5 separate regions of the Homo sapiens genome follow, and regions 2, 3, 4 and 5 are each linked to region 1. Evidence: promoter capture Hi-C in 16 types of primary human blood cells and fetal thymus (Javierre and others, 2016). All regions are on one chromosome and are shown on one strand. The core of a region is centred on a gene start or on the middle of the fragment in contact, and the rest is flanking DNA. Distances in the headings are between cores, read along the strand shown.

The links. Contacts are between HindIII fragments. The CHiCAGO score rates a contact against its expected background, and 5 or more counts as called.
Region 2: a contact is called between a fragment that was not itself captured here and the fragment with the promoter of PLA2G4A in region 1, in 3 of 17 cell types (monocytes, neutrophils and megakaryocytes). The highest score is 11.7, in monocytes.
Region 3: a fragment that was not itself captured here is called in contact with the fragment with the promoter of PLA2G4A in region 1 in 1 of 17 cell types (M2 macrophages); the score reaches 5.2 in M2 macrophages.
Region 4: a fragment that was not itself captured here is called in contact with the fragment with the promoter of PLA2G4A in region 1 in 3 of 17 cell types (neutrophils, megakaryocytes and monocytes); the score reaches 7.5 in neutrophils.
Region 5: a contact is called between a fragment that was not itself captured here and the fragment with the promoter of PLA2G4A in region 1, in 2 of 17 cell types (neutrophils and monocytes). The highest score is 6.6, in neutrophils.

What each region holds. Positions count from the first base shown.
Region 1 is chr1:186,827,552-186,830,266 of GRCh38, forward strand. PLA2G4A (phospholipase A2 group IVA) reads left to right here and starts at 1,398. Exons shown (of 18, transcript NM_024420.3): 1 at 1,398-1,484. The HindIII fragment of the contact is 13,801 bases long and covers 1-2,715 here.
Region 2 is chr1:186,596,935-186,599,649 of GRCh38, forward strand. No RefSeq gene overlaps it. Among named protein-coding and RNA genes, the nearest start is that of PTGS2, 82 kb to the right of the region's middle. The HindIII fragment of the contact is 944 bases long and covers 887-1,830 here.
Region 3 is chr1:186,989,017-186,991,731 of GRCh38, forward strand. No RefSeq gene overlaps it. Among named protein-coding and RNA genes, the nearest start is that of LINC01036, 100 kb to the right of the region's middle. The HindIII fragment of the contact is 1,386 bases long and covers 620-2,005 here.
Region 4 is chr1:186,676,348-186,679,062 of GRCh38, forward strand. PTGS2 (prostaglandin-endoperoxide synthase 2) reads right to left here. Exons shown (of 10, transcript NM_000963.4): 3 at 2,711-2,715; 4 at 1,914-2,057; 5 at 1,302-1,483; 6 at 486-569; 7 at 120-366. Among named protein-coding and RNA genes, the nearest start is that of PTGS2, 2.7 kb to the right of the region's middle. RefSeq lists an enhancer at 1,227-2,426. The HindIII fragment of the contact is 2,730 bases long and covers 1-2,615 here.
Region 5 is chr1:186,698,222-186,700,936 of GRCh38, forward strand. No RefSeq gene overlaps it. Among named protein-coding and RNA genes, the nearest start is that of PACERR, 19 kb to the left of the region's middle. The HindIII fragment of the contact is 2,394 bases long and covers 204-2,597 here.

The DNA of each region.
Region 1 (2,715 bases), core at 148-2,647:
GAAAACTACCAGTGTGCTCTCTGCTCCTCTAATTAACATACACCTCCTTTCTAGAAATTCAGGGATTTCTTTGGAAAGAGAAATTTTTTTTTTTTTTTTTTTTTTTTTTTTTTTTTTTTTTTTTTTTTTTTTTTGAGACGGAGTCTCGCTCTGTGGCCCAGGCGGGAGTGCAATGGCGCAATCTTGGCTCACTGCAAGCTCTGCCTCCCGGGTTCACGCCATTCTCCTGCCTCAGCCTCCCAAGTAGCTGGGACTACAGGCGCCCGCCACCACACCCGGCTAATTTTTTGTATTTTTAGTAGAGACGGGGGTTTCACCGTGTTAGCCAGGATAGTCTCGATCTCCTGACCTCGTGATCCGCCCGCCTTGGCCTCCCAAAGTGCTGGGATTACAGGCGTGAGCCACCGTGCCCAGCCCGAAAAATGTTTATTATAAATCTATCCTTCCTAAAAAAGACATTACTGGCTTTTTTTTTTTTCAAAGAGAGATTTATAATATGCCAGGTTGAATTTAGGGGAAAAAAATAAAAACAAATAAGAGTTGAATGTTGGGCTACAGAAAGCAGATATTCCAGAAGATTTAGTGAAATTATATTCTTTGAAAATATTGTAAGAGAGTTAGGAGAGTGAGTTCAGTATTTAATTAAAGGCAAAAACAAGATCCTGTGTTTGAAAAACAAGATATACTAAATGAACATGTCAATCTTTAAAGACATGAATTGATTCTCATGGAATTTGGGTACATTTAAACAATGCACCTTCTTCATTACAGTGCTATAAGGTATTTGGATTTACACTGCAAATTTGGAATTCAACCTGATTTCATTTTCTTCCCTAAATCTCAACATATATATTACATTATTTGGTATGCCTTTAATCTTAAATTTACAAAGAAATTATTATCAACACAGGTGTTCTGAGTCTGGAGTGGAAATATTTAAACAGATTTGATTTTTAAAGTGGTCTGATACTCATTTTTTAAAAATGTACATTTTTATATTTGGGGTTTGTTATAAACTTTGCCTTTTTAAATAATGCAAAAATGCTCTAGGTTATTCACTGTCTTTTCAATTTTGTTCTCCTTTGGAAAAAAGGAGGAAGTAGTTACTACTTAAGGACAAGTAGCAATTTCAGACGCGCGCACGCACACACACACACACACACACACACATCACACACACAGAAATCCACAACAGCACTCATGGAATTTAGGACTGATTAATTTACATATTATTTAAGCATATTTTCTGACTTCAAACTCCTGGTTCTAATAACTAAGCATTTACATTTACAATATTAGCTTCTATGAGAAGAGAGCGTTCTCCCTCTTCCCCTTTAATTCCACCTTAAAACATCTGCAAAAGCGCAAGGAGACCAGCCCACATTTTAGCCCCTCCTACTCAGGATAAGACTTTCTCTAAGTCCGGAGCTGAAAAAGGATCCTGACTGAAAGCTAGAGGCATTGAGGAGCCTGAAGATTCTCAGGTAACTCTGGGAACTGTAAGCAATATATTTATTCTTCCTCTGCTCCACTTCTCTCTCCCACCCTCCTTAGCTTTTACTTGGTAGTTTACTTGGAAGGAAGAAAGGACGGAGGGGAAACCTCGCTGCTTTAAAAAGTCAGCATGTCCTCTGCCTTTTGAAGTGAAACACAGATTAGGGACCTCAATTTTCTTCAAACCCACGCAGATTTGCCTTCCTGGATCTAAATGCACTGTGGAGTCAAAGATTAAGGTGTTTCTTTGGGTTGGAATCCCAGAAAGTTAGCATTCAAAACGGCGGTGAGGTGGCGCTTATTAGCGTTCCACGTGATGACACCCAATGGTTACTGATCCCCAAACTTGAGCAGCAGCATGCTGTGCTGTTTGACAGCCCTAGCGATCTTTAGCGAGAGACTTTGTTGACTCACTTAACTTTTAATTTCTAAAAATTGGTCATTTTTGTTACTTATGGGACGCTTTCCTGGCTAGTCAATATTTTGCAGAATTATGCGAAAGAAAGAGGATTATTGAAAAATTAACTGTAAACGGACTGGTGTTCTGATGATCCACCCTTCCCCTAAGTTACTTGGCTTGCCAAGAGAAAAAAAAAATCTCAAAACTAGATACTAGAAAAGATTTGATCAAATTACATAGTTAAATTTTGAGTGTGGATATTTCAGTAATTTTGTTTCCAAAAAAAACAGAAAAAAAAGGTATTTGATTTTAAAGTATCAGTGGATGAATGTATCTGTCTCCTACAATTTATAATCATTTTAGTCTTAAAAATAAATTCACCTCCAAAACCAGAACAAGAAATACTCCTCATATGGGTTGATGATGTCAGCATTTATTCAGCTAAGGCAGATGGAGAGTATTAGAGGCGTACTGTCTGAATGGGTGTCAATTCTAAAGTTATATTTGCCAATATAATTTGAGTTCAAAGAAGATTTGTATTTTTGTTTCTCTTTGTTGTTTAAATTTAGAATTGTGGCTCAAGGGATATTTGTAGAGGACTGTAGTGAAACAAGCTCTGTTAAGAATTTTAAAGTTACATTCTACAGGTTCCTACACCTTGCCAATCAAGTTAGAGGTTGGGATAAGAAACAGGTATTTACTTCTTTCATTAGCTCCGGAAGAGTTAAATTTTAAATTAAGCAATAATTGTGAAATGCATAGAGAAGTGTTTAATGTGCATTTGCTCAAAGGAGTTTTACAAACTTCCCTTAGGGGAAGCA
Region 2 (2,715 bases), core at 109-2,608, 230 kb before region 1:
AGAATATCTGTAATTATCTGAAAAGGCTACTAAAATAATCCTCATCTTTCCAACGACATATTTATGTGACACTGGATTTTTTTCATGGACTAAAACTAAAGCAATATGTTAAAACAGATTAAAGAAGCAGATTTAAGAATCCAACTATCTTTTTAATTGATACATAATAGTTCTACATGTTTATTGGGTATATCTGATATTTTGATATATGCATACAATGCATAAAAGCAAATCAGGATAATTGGAATATCTGTTATTTCAAACAATTGTCCCTCTCTTTCTCTTTTCTTTCTTTCTTTCTCTTTCTTTCTCTCTCCTTCCTTCTTTCCCTTTCTTTTCTTTCTTTCTCTTTCTTTCTTTTCGTTCTCTTTCTCTCTCTTTCTTTCTTCCTTTCTTCCTTCCTTTCTTTCTTTCTTTCTCTCTCTCTCTCTTTCTTTCTTTCTTTCTTTCTTTCTTTCTTTCTTTCTTTCTTTCTTTCTTTCTTTCTTTCTCTTTCTCTTTCTCTCTCTCCCTACCTCTCCTTCCTTCCTTCCTTCCTTCCTTCCTTCCTTCCTTCCTTCCTTCCTTCCTTCTTTCTCTTGTTTTATCGCCCAGGCTGGCACAATCTCGACTCACTGCAACCTCCACTTTCTGGCTTCAAGTGATTCTTGTGCCTCAGCCTCCCAAGTAGTTGGGACTACAGGTGCAGGCCACCAGGCCCTGCTAATTTTTGTTTTTTTTTTTTTTCAGTAAAGATGGGGTTTCGCCATGTTGGCCAGGCTGGTCTTGAACTCCTAACCTCAAGCGATCCGCCTGCCTCAGCCTCTGAAAGTGCTGGGATTACAGGCATGAGCCACTGTGCCTGGCCTCAAAAGATTGTCATTTCTTTGTGTTAGAAATATTCCAAAGCTTTTATTCAAGCTACAACAAATTATTGTTAACCATAGTTCTATTGTGCTATTGAACACTAGAAATTATTCTTTCTGTTTTTACACCCACTAACCAAACTCTCTTTAAAACCTCTCCACTCACCTTTACAGTCTCTGATAACTACCATTCTATTCTCTACCTCCATGAGATTAACTTTTTTAGCTTACATATTAATGAGAATATGCAATATTTGTCTTTCTATGCCTGGTTTATTTCACTTAACAAAATGCCCTTCGGTTCCTTTCATGCTGCTGCAAATAACAGGATTCTTTTTTACGGCTGAATAATATCCATATACATATATATATCACATTTTCTTTATTCATTTATTCTTCGATAGATACTTGGGTTGATGCCATATCTTGGCAATTGTGAATAGTGCCACAATAAACTTGGGAATGCAGACATCTCTTCAATATACTGATTTTCTTCTTTTGGGTATGTATCTAGCAGTGGGATTACTGGATCACGTGGTAGTTCTATTTTTAGTTTTTGTGAGGAACCTTGATAATGTTTTCCGTAGTGGCTGTACTAATTTATAATTCTCAGCAACAGAGCAAGAGTCTTAGCTATTCTTTTATGCACCCTCCTCAGCATCTTCTATTTTCTTTTAGATAAAAGCCATTTTAACCTGGGTAAGATGATACCTCCTCGTAGTTTTGATTTGCATCTTTCTGATGATTAGTGATGTTGAAAATTTTTTCGTATACCTATTGGCCATCTGTATGTCTTCTTTTGAGGGATGTCTATTCAGATCTCTTGCACATTTTTTATTTGAATTATTTGATTTTTTGCTATTGAGTTGTTTGAGTTCCATATATATTCTAATTATTAATCTCATCTTAGATAGTTTGCCAATATTTTCTTCCATTCTATAGGTTGTTTTTTTCACTTTGCTGATTGTTTCTTTTGGTGTGCAGAAGCTTTTCAGCTTGATATAATCCCATTTGTGTAATTTTGCTTTTGTTGTCTGTGCTTTTTAATGACTTACCAAAAAAAAAAAAAATTGCCCAGACCAATGTCCTAAGGTGTAGTTCTCTCATGTTTTCTTCTAGTAATTTCATAGTGTTTCAGATCTTGCATTTAAGTCTTTAATACATCTTTATTTGATTTTTACATAAGGTGAGAGGTAGGGATCTAGTTTCATTCTTCTGCATATGGTTATCCAATTTTCCCAACATCATTTACTGAAGAGACTGTTCTTTCCCCGGTGTATGTTCTTGGTACCTTTGTTGAAAATGAGTTGTCTGTAAATGCATGGGTTTATTTTGGGGTTCTCTATTCTGTTCCATTGGTCTATGTGTCTGCTTTTATGCCACTACCATGCTGATTCGGTTATAATAGCTTTGTAGTATAGTTTGAAATTGGATAGTGTGATGCCTACAGCTTTGTTCTTTTTACTCAGGATTGCTTTGGCTATTTGGGAGCTTTTATGGTTCCATACAAATTTTAGGATTTTTTTTCCTCTATTTCTGTGAAGAATGTCATTGGCATTTTGATGGGGCTTGCATTAAATCTGTAGATCACTTTGGAAAGTATGGATATATTAACAATATTAAGTGTTCTAAACCATCAGCATGAAAATCTTTACATTTTTTAGTGTCCTTTTCAATTTCTTTCATCCATGTTTTATGGTTTTCTTTGTAGAGATCTTTCACTTCTTTGGTTAGACTGATTCCTAGAAATTTTTTATAGCTATTGTAAATGGGATTACTTCTTGATTTCTTTTTCAGATTGTTTACCTCTGTTGTCATTTTTGAATGTTTATTTTGTATCCTGTAACTTTACTGAGTTTATGAGTTCTAA
Region 3 (2,715 bases), core at 63-2,562, 160 kb after region 1:
GAGATATTGGACTATTGCTATGAAAGATTCTCATATTCACTGCTTTCAAACGCAAAAGTTGTTCATCCTAAACTCAAGTGTGAAACTTTTAATTTAATTTAATTAATTAATTAATTTTTTTGTGAGACAGAGTCTCACTCTGTCACCTAGGCTGGAGTGCAGTGGTGTGATCTTGGCTCACCACAAGCTCCGCCTCCCAGGTTCAAGCGATTCCCCTGCCTCAGCCTCCCGAGTAGCTGGGACTACAGGTGCCCGCCACCACACCCAGCCAATTTTTAGATTTTTAGTACAGACGGGGTTTCACTATGTTGGCCAGGCTGGTCTCAAACTCCTGACCTCTTGATCTGCCCGCCCCAGCCTCCCAAAGCGCTGGGATTACAGGTGTGAGCCACCGCGCCTGGCTGAAACTTTTAATTTTAAATCATAGGTTTTTTTTCTGAAAGATGAATATATAATTTTTTCAGAAAATGGTATATGTTTATTCATTAAGTAGAAAATATATGTGTAACCACTTCTAATGTAACATTTCCCTTGGCTAATATTATCCTGGACTGCTTATCCAACAACCAGTGTAGTTGACCTCAGAGAATAATCCAAAAAAGTGGTAAGGGCTGAATCAAGCTTAATAAGTGGCCTACCTCTTGCATCTGCAAGATTTGTCTTGGGAACACTGTATGACACAACTGTGGCTGCAGTTGCAGCTGAACTGTTATGGTTCAGAATGTTCCAAAGCTCAGGTCTTCCTCTTCTTAACTGTCTGCCATTCTTCTTTCCTTGAATTATCTTTCTTTAAGCTCTTTATTCATTTTTCTTTTTATCCTCTCACCTTTCACTTTTCTGCCTATGAGGAAAGACAAAAAACAATAAAAGGAAGCCTTGAACGTTCATTCTATTGTTCATTGATTTATGCCTATGGCAAATGAGTGCCTACTGCATGCTGTCAAGCATGTTGCAGGATCCCAGGATCTAGGGGCACAAAAGTAGAAAAAACGGACCGAAGTGCCTGCCTAAGGACCTTGCATTCTGGTGGAGATGACCAAAGATGATAAACATGACACAGACATATGTTGAATGTTAGAGAGTGATAAGTGCTAAGAAGAAAAAGCAGGAAAAAGAGGAGATGGGATGTGTTAGAGGTGTGTAATTTTACAGGGGGTCCTAGAGAAGGCCATAATATGAAGGTGACATCGCAGCAAAGAGGTGAAGAGCTGAGGGAGCAAGACCTGAGGCTATCCAACGGAGAAGCACTGCGGGCAGAGGAAATAACAAATCAAAGTTCCCTGAGGTAGAGCACCAAGCATATTCCGGAAACAGAGAAGGGACCAACGTGCCTAAGGCAGAGTGGGAGGTGTACAATTAATTTTCTCTTATTTGTTCAAACTTTGGCAATATTGTTTGCATTTGATTTATCCTTCCAAATACCTCTGTAAAGAAACAAGACCAGAGAGGTTAAGAAATATGTCCAAGATGACTAAATTCTGAACCAGGTCCCTATGCTGTTGACCCTATGGCCTGTATATCACCATCTATGGTGCCCTCTAGAAACAAATTAGATGAACACTTCAGTGACAGTCATTATAAAGCTGGGACCAACTAGGACACTTGCTTTCCCTTTGTTCACATGCTTTTAGTTTCTTAACTACAATAACAGAGGCTTTTCATCTAATTCAGCTTTGCCATTTTTTCATTTATGAATTTACTAGAATTCTGATTTTATAAAAACACACATTGGGTGGCCAGTTAAATCTGTACATTTTTTTTTTATTATTTCTTTGTTCCAAAGAATGACTGACAAGTGAGATGTCCCCTTAGTCTTCCCCAAAATGATCAACGTGCCCTAGTAATTTCGGCTTGGCTCTTTGCCTTTTTCACGCAAGCACAAGTGTTCTAGTTTGTTCATTGTTCACGCCATGACAGGGCTGCTACTTTACCTCATCCATGAACAAGCTGTGCAATTTCAGGGTTTTTTTTGTTTTTTGATAAGCAATGAAAGCAACAAAATAAAAGCTTGGTGTGTGTATGTATATATCTAATTTCATTTCTTCTGAAGTATACAATTTTAAACTTTTCATGAATACCTTTGTTCTAACATGGAAAACACTTTATAAAAGTTTCAACAGTAGTTCCTCTTTCTTTTTCCTTTCCCCTTCTCTTTACCTCCTTAAACAATTTAATCCCAAAGCCATGGGAATCAATGGGGAATCAAAGTCAGACACCAAAACCTGAGATGGGAGGGCATCCATGCAGAGGAAGGTGTGGCACAGACAGTGCAGCTTGCTTACACATGGGGGAACCAATGAAGTAATTAAATATATGAAATATAATAAATATAATGAGTGCCAGTTTTCTCACTGGAATGGAGTTACAAATATGAAAATGAAGAAAAACAGAAGGTTGTGTGGTGTTAAGTTGAAGTAGGAGGTATTAGTATGAATTCACGGGTTTTAGTATAAGTAGAGATATATAGAATAAACAGACATGAAAGTGGGTGTGTGTAGAGATTCTGTACGTCTGTCACTGAGAGGATCTGGGAGCGGTGATACTCCCAATAGCAATGAGCACAGCTGGACACAGCAGTTGGCTTTCAAATCCCATCATATAACAACAGAAACCTAGGATCCTCAAGGAAGTGGCTGATTCTAGGTCGGACAGAACAAGTATAAAATGATGCTAGACCATTTTATTTTGCCACAGTACAGAAGTGCTCAAAGAATG
Region 4 (2,715 bases), core at 1-2,500, 150 kb before region 1:
TATATAGAATGTGTGAGTTTTCATTTACCACATCTTGTCATTTACTCAAAACATAACAAAGATAGCACACTAATTTTCCCTGGGGAAGAGGGTTTTATATAAATCATTTTCTTGTTTACCTATCAGTATTAGCCTGCTTGTCTGGAACAACTGCTCATCACCCCATTCAGGATGCTCCTGTTTAAGCACATCGCATACTCTGTTGTGTTCCCGCAGCCAGATTGTGGCATACATCATCAGACCAGGCACCAGACCAAAGACCTCCTGCCCCACAGCAAACCGTAGATGCTCAGGGACTTGAGGAGGGTAGATCATCTCTGCCTGAGTATCTTTGACTGTGGGAGGATACATCTCTCCATCAATTATCTAAAAAAATAAATAAATAAATAAACATCAGTTAAAAAGTTAAGGAACACATTTTTAGGGATTTTAAAATATGGGTATAAGCGGTAATAACTAAGTCTTAATAGTCAAAGGAAGCATACCTGATATTTCATTTTTCCATCCTTGAAAAGGCGCAGTTTACGCTGTCTAGCCAGAGTTTCACCGTAAATATGATTTAAGTCCACCTAGAAAATGATGAAAAAATTTTAATTTGTTGCTGTTGAAGTTTTTCTTATATAAAGTGTCTATCATATAATTCATCATTAAATAATTTGATCATTTAGCTTTCTTTAAAATTTTTAAATAAAATATACATTTTTCATAGCCATGAATTGCTAAATTAATTTGTTTATCCACCAAAGCTACAAACTGATATGTCTTTGTGTTTAACGGAATTAATATACTATATTGAGCTTATATCATATATATTATATACTTCACTATGATGATATGGTAATTATAAAAAAGTATAAAAATGTATTATTTATAAAAAATTCTTACGAATAACTTGAAGCTATGCTATTGAAATCCAAAAAATAATAATGCGGCAAAAACCTCACTTTACAATATTGAAAGCGGCATAATCATGGTACAATGTGTTTTTGAGGACATAACATTTTGCAGTACTAACATTTTAAACTAAAAAATACAAGGGTCAAATTACAAATAACAATACCTGTACATATGTATGTGTGTGAATGTTTATATATGTGTGTGCATGTCTGTGTGTGTGTATAATTTTACTAGACCAGTGAAGTAAATGGAAAATTCCTTTAAGGTTTTTATAGATAAGACTTCTTTTTAAAAAAAGTGGATAAGTTATTTGGATCTATCTATCTGTATATCTCCTTTAATGTTAGCCCTTGACTATGATTTGGTATAATTTTACTAACTCTAAGATATTAACTCTATCTTACCCCATGGCCCAGCCCGTTGGTGAAAGCTGGCCCTCGCTTATGATCTGTCTTGAAAAACTGATGCGTGAAGTGCTGGGCAAAGAATGCAAACATCATGTTTGAGCCCTGGGGATCAGGGATGAACTTTCTTCTTAGAAGCAATTTTTCCACAATCTCATTTGAATCAGGAAGCTGCTTTTTACCTGAAAAATGAGAAAGCTAAGGTAAGAATCCATCTATGTATTCAAGAAAGGAGATGGTGACTGTCAATCTACCAAGAATTCTTCATTTATATGAGAATTACAATTGTGAATAGGATCATAATATAAACAACAGTTCTAAGATATGGTGGAACAACTTCTTACTGAATGATTTTATCTATTTTAATTAGAATTATTTCATTTCTAAAGAAATAATTTGAAAATATTAAGACATTATACCAAGACGCTCATTTGCTTTTACATAATAGTTTATATAGACTCATACTTTAAAAAATACCCATAGATAACCATGCTAAAAGTAAAAACTGCTTTTGTTAATAAATAAATGGTAGTCTAAGGTCAATTTTTTTTTTTGGCAGCAATGCAGCCCGTCTTATAGTTAATACATCTCTAATGGATTCTTCTTACTCACCTTTGACACCCAAGGGAGTCGGGCAATCATCAGGCACAGGAGGAAGGGCTCTAGTATAATAGGAGAGGTTAGAGAAGGCTTCCCAGCTTTTGTAGCCATAGTCAGCATTGTAAGTTGGTGGACTGTCAATCAAATGTGATCTGGCTGAAATTTTCAAAGAAAAAAATGTTTTATTTATTCTCATTTGTTAAGTAAATCAACCATTATTTTTATTGTAAAATGTGGAAAGTGGCACCTGAGGTTGAATGTAACTCCAAAATAAAAAAAATCTATTTTTAAACAACTACACTTTATAGTCTAATGGCCACTTGAAATACATCTTTAATAAAATACATATACTCTGCACATTATAATCTGGCAATATTGATTTTTCAGGTAGCCATCTGCTCACTATCCAAGAGGCCTATGAAAGGAATGGCTGAGTATGGCACCCACTTTAGAATCATGGAAAGTTATTTTCTTGCTGATCCAAATCCAAATTTATTTTAATGGGTGCTACATGTTCAGAACAATTCTGTGGCCCATGGGCATTCAATAAACAGCTGGACCATGCTACCTCCACAAACTGACCAAACAGTAAAGGTTAGAAGAGGTATACAGAGTTGTGAGCAGACTGTATAAACTGGATGGGACTAAATGTCAATATTTTTGGCGATTAAGATGGAAGGCAAACTTAAAAGCTATCTTAAAGTCTTTTTGATAAGCTTGGAAATATGTTTTTAGATTAGGCTTACAGTATTATAAAGCATATTTTTCTTTGAGAAGGCTAAAAACCTTAGAAAGACACTTGTACTTACATGTC
Region 5 (2,715 bases), core at 151-2,650, 130 kb before region 1:
CAACCTAAATGCCCATCAATGACAGATTGGATAAAGAAAATGTGGTATATATACATCATGGAATACCATGCAGCCATAAAAAAGAATGAGACTTTTGCAGGGACATGGATAGCACCAGAGGCTTTTATCCTTGGCAAACTAATGCAGGAACATAAAACCAAATACCACATGTACTCACTTAAAAGTGTGAGCTAAATGATAAAAGCTTATGAACACAAAGAAGGAAACAACAGACACTGGGGCCTGCTTGAGGTGGGAAGAGGGAGAGAAGCAGAAAAGATCACGAATGGGTACTGGGCTTAATACCTGCATGATGAAATAATATGTACAACAAACCCCTATGACACACGTTACATATGTAAGAAACCTTCACATATACCCCCAAACCTAAAACAAAAGTTGAAAAAAACACACACATGAAAATGACAAGCACATAAATAAACAGGAAAAAGCCATGATCAACTAATTCAATAAAAACTTGCTTAGTACTCTTATGAAAAAATAGATTGCACTAAGAAGCAAGGAAATACAAATAAAATCAAGTGAACATTAAGTCTTACAAATTAGTAATGTAATAGTAAAATAAATGCTATATATAGTGTGCATGTATTGCATTATAACTGTATGCCAGGAACTGTTCATCTTTTTACAACTTTAAGTACATAAATGTAATGGAGGGAAAATGGTCGCTGTTAGAAATGTTCAAGAAACAGCAAGAAGGCCAGTATGCCTGGTGGAAAGGGAATCAAGGGGATGCTGGGAGATGAAGTCTGACACAGTGGTATTTGGCAGTTAGCAGGTTCTTAATATGTTTTTTAGGACCAGCTATCTGTAATTGGTGGGGCTAAAGGCCAATTTTATTTTCATCTTTTGCTTATTTGTATTTCTATATTTTCCAAATAAATGCTTGTTATTTTTATAATATAAAATAAATATTTTAATAAAAATTTATTTACAAATGAAATACCATAAAAAATATGATGGTGGCATGCACCTATAGTCCCAGATACTCAGGAGGCTGAGGTAAGAAAATCACCTGGGCCCGGCCGGGCGCGGTGGCTTACGCTTGTAATCCCAGCACTTTGGGAGGCCGAGGCGGGCAGATCACCTGAGGTCAGGAGTTCGAGACCAGCCTGACCAACATGGAGAAACCCTATCTCTACTAAAAATACAAAATTAGCCAGGCGTGGTGGCACATGCCTGTAATCCCAGCTACTTGGGAGGCCGAGGCAGGAGAATTGCTTGAACCCGGGAGGTGAAGGTTGTGGTGAGCCAAGATGGTGCTACTGCATGCCAGCCTGGGCGACAGAGCAGGACTCCGTCTCAAAAAAAAAGAAAAAAATAAAATAAAACAGAAGATCATCTGAGCCCAAGAGTTCCAATGAGCTATGATCAGCCTAAGTGATAGAGTGAGACCCTGTCTCTACAAAAAACAAACAAAAAGAGATAATAGATTGTGTTCTGTTAGATACTAAAAATGAGTCATTTTCTCCATAGATAAAATGAAATTCTTTTCTTCCTTTCATCTTGTTATCAGGTACTTCCTACTTACATTGCCTAACTTGATTTTATGTAATTTGATATAAAGAGATTTGAGTTCTCTTTATAGCAAAGATTTAATCAAAGAGTAACTCTCTTTTTATCAAAGATTTTTAAATATCTTTTTGATATAAAAAGAATGTAAATCTCTTTATATCAAAGACCCTATCATTATTTCCAACATAGTTCAATGAAAGAAACACGTAATTTGAAGCACTGACCACATGACCTTGGGCAAATACATACATTTATTATCCCTCAGTTTCTTCATCTACTCATGTTTGTCATGAAGATAAATAAAATATATGGACTCCTTTGAGTTATCAGAAGAGATCTAAACCTAATACATTCAGGCTTCCTGAAACCCATTACTTCAAATGCAATGTGGTCATTATTGTGCTCTGCTCTTGAGATTTAAAATGTCTTTTCATTTCCACTTTTCCATTTTAAATTTTAAATTTTATATTTCAAATTTTATACTTTGAGCTGTTTTCAAATCAACCCTTGGGCTGTTGGCTATCACACAAAATTTTCTCTTCTACAGAGATGAACACAGGGCCTATAGAACATTCAGTGTCCAGAACATGTCTTCTTTTTGTGGTTCTACTTGATTCCATTCTGGTACTGTTTGAAGAGCTGCAAATACTGCTTTTAAATTTAGGTTTTTCATTTGACATTTAAGTAAAACCTTACTCTGTAAATCAGCTGTTTTCACTTATAAGTGCTGCATGTGATTTATTTTAGAAGCAAATGGCGAAAATTTTATTTAAAGATGCACGCTCCCTCTTTTAAGTTTCTTGTCAATTTTTTTCATGTAAAAAAAAATCTTGGAAAAACAAAACAAAAATGGTAAAAATGATGTAATGGGTACATTTAAAATTTACTAGACTATTGCTCACTTTCAAAATTTAACCTTAAGTAATCCTTATATATTAAGCTAAATCTTATATCTAATCTATATTTTTTCATTGTATGCAATCATCATTCTTTGTGATTCTTGTTTATATTTTCATTCTCTATTTTCTCAACGTATTTACTAAGCATATTCTATGGATAGAAGCTTATGTCTGAGTCAAAATACAAAGTGTGGCTTTGAAGCAGAACATCAATCAAGCAATGAAGACCTGATTTTATAAGTCAACCTGCCACTGGGGTAGCTGTAAATCCATGGCTTCT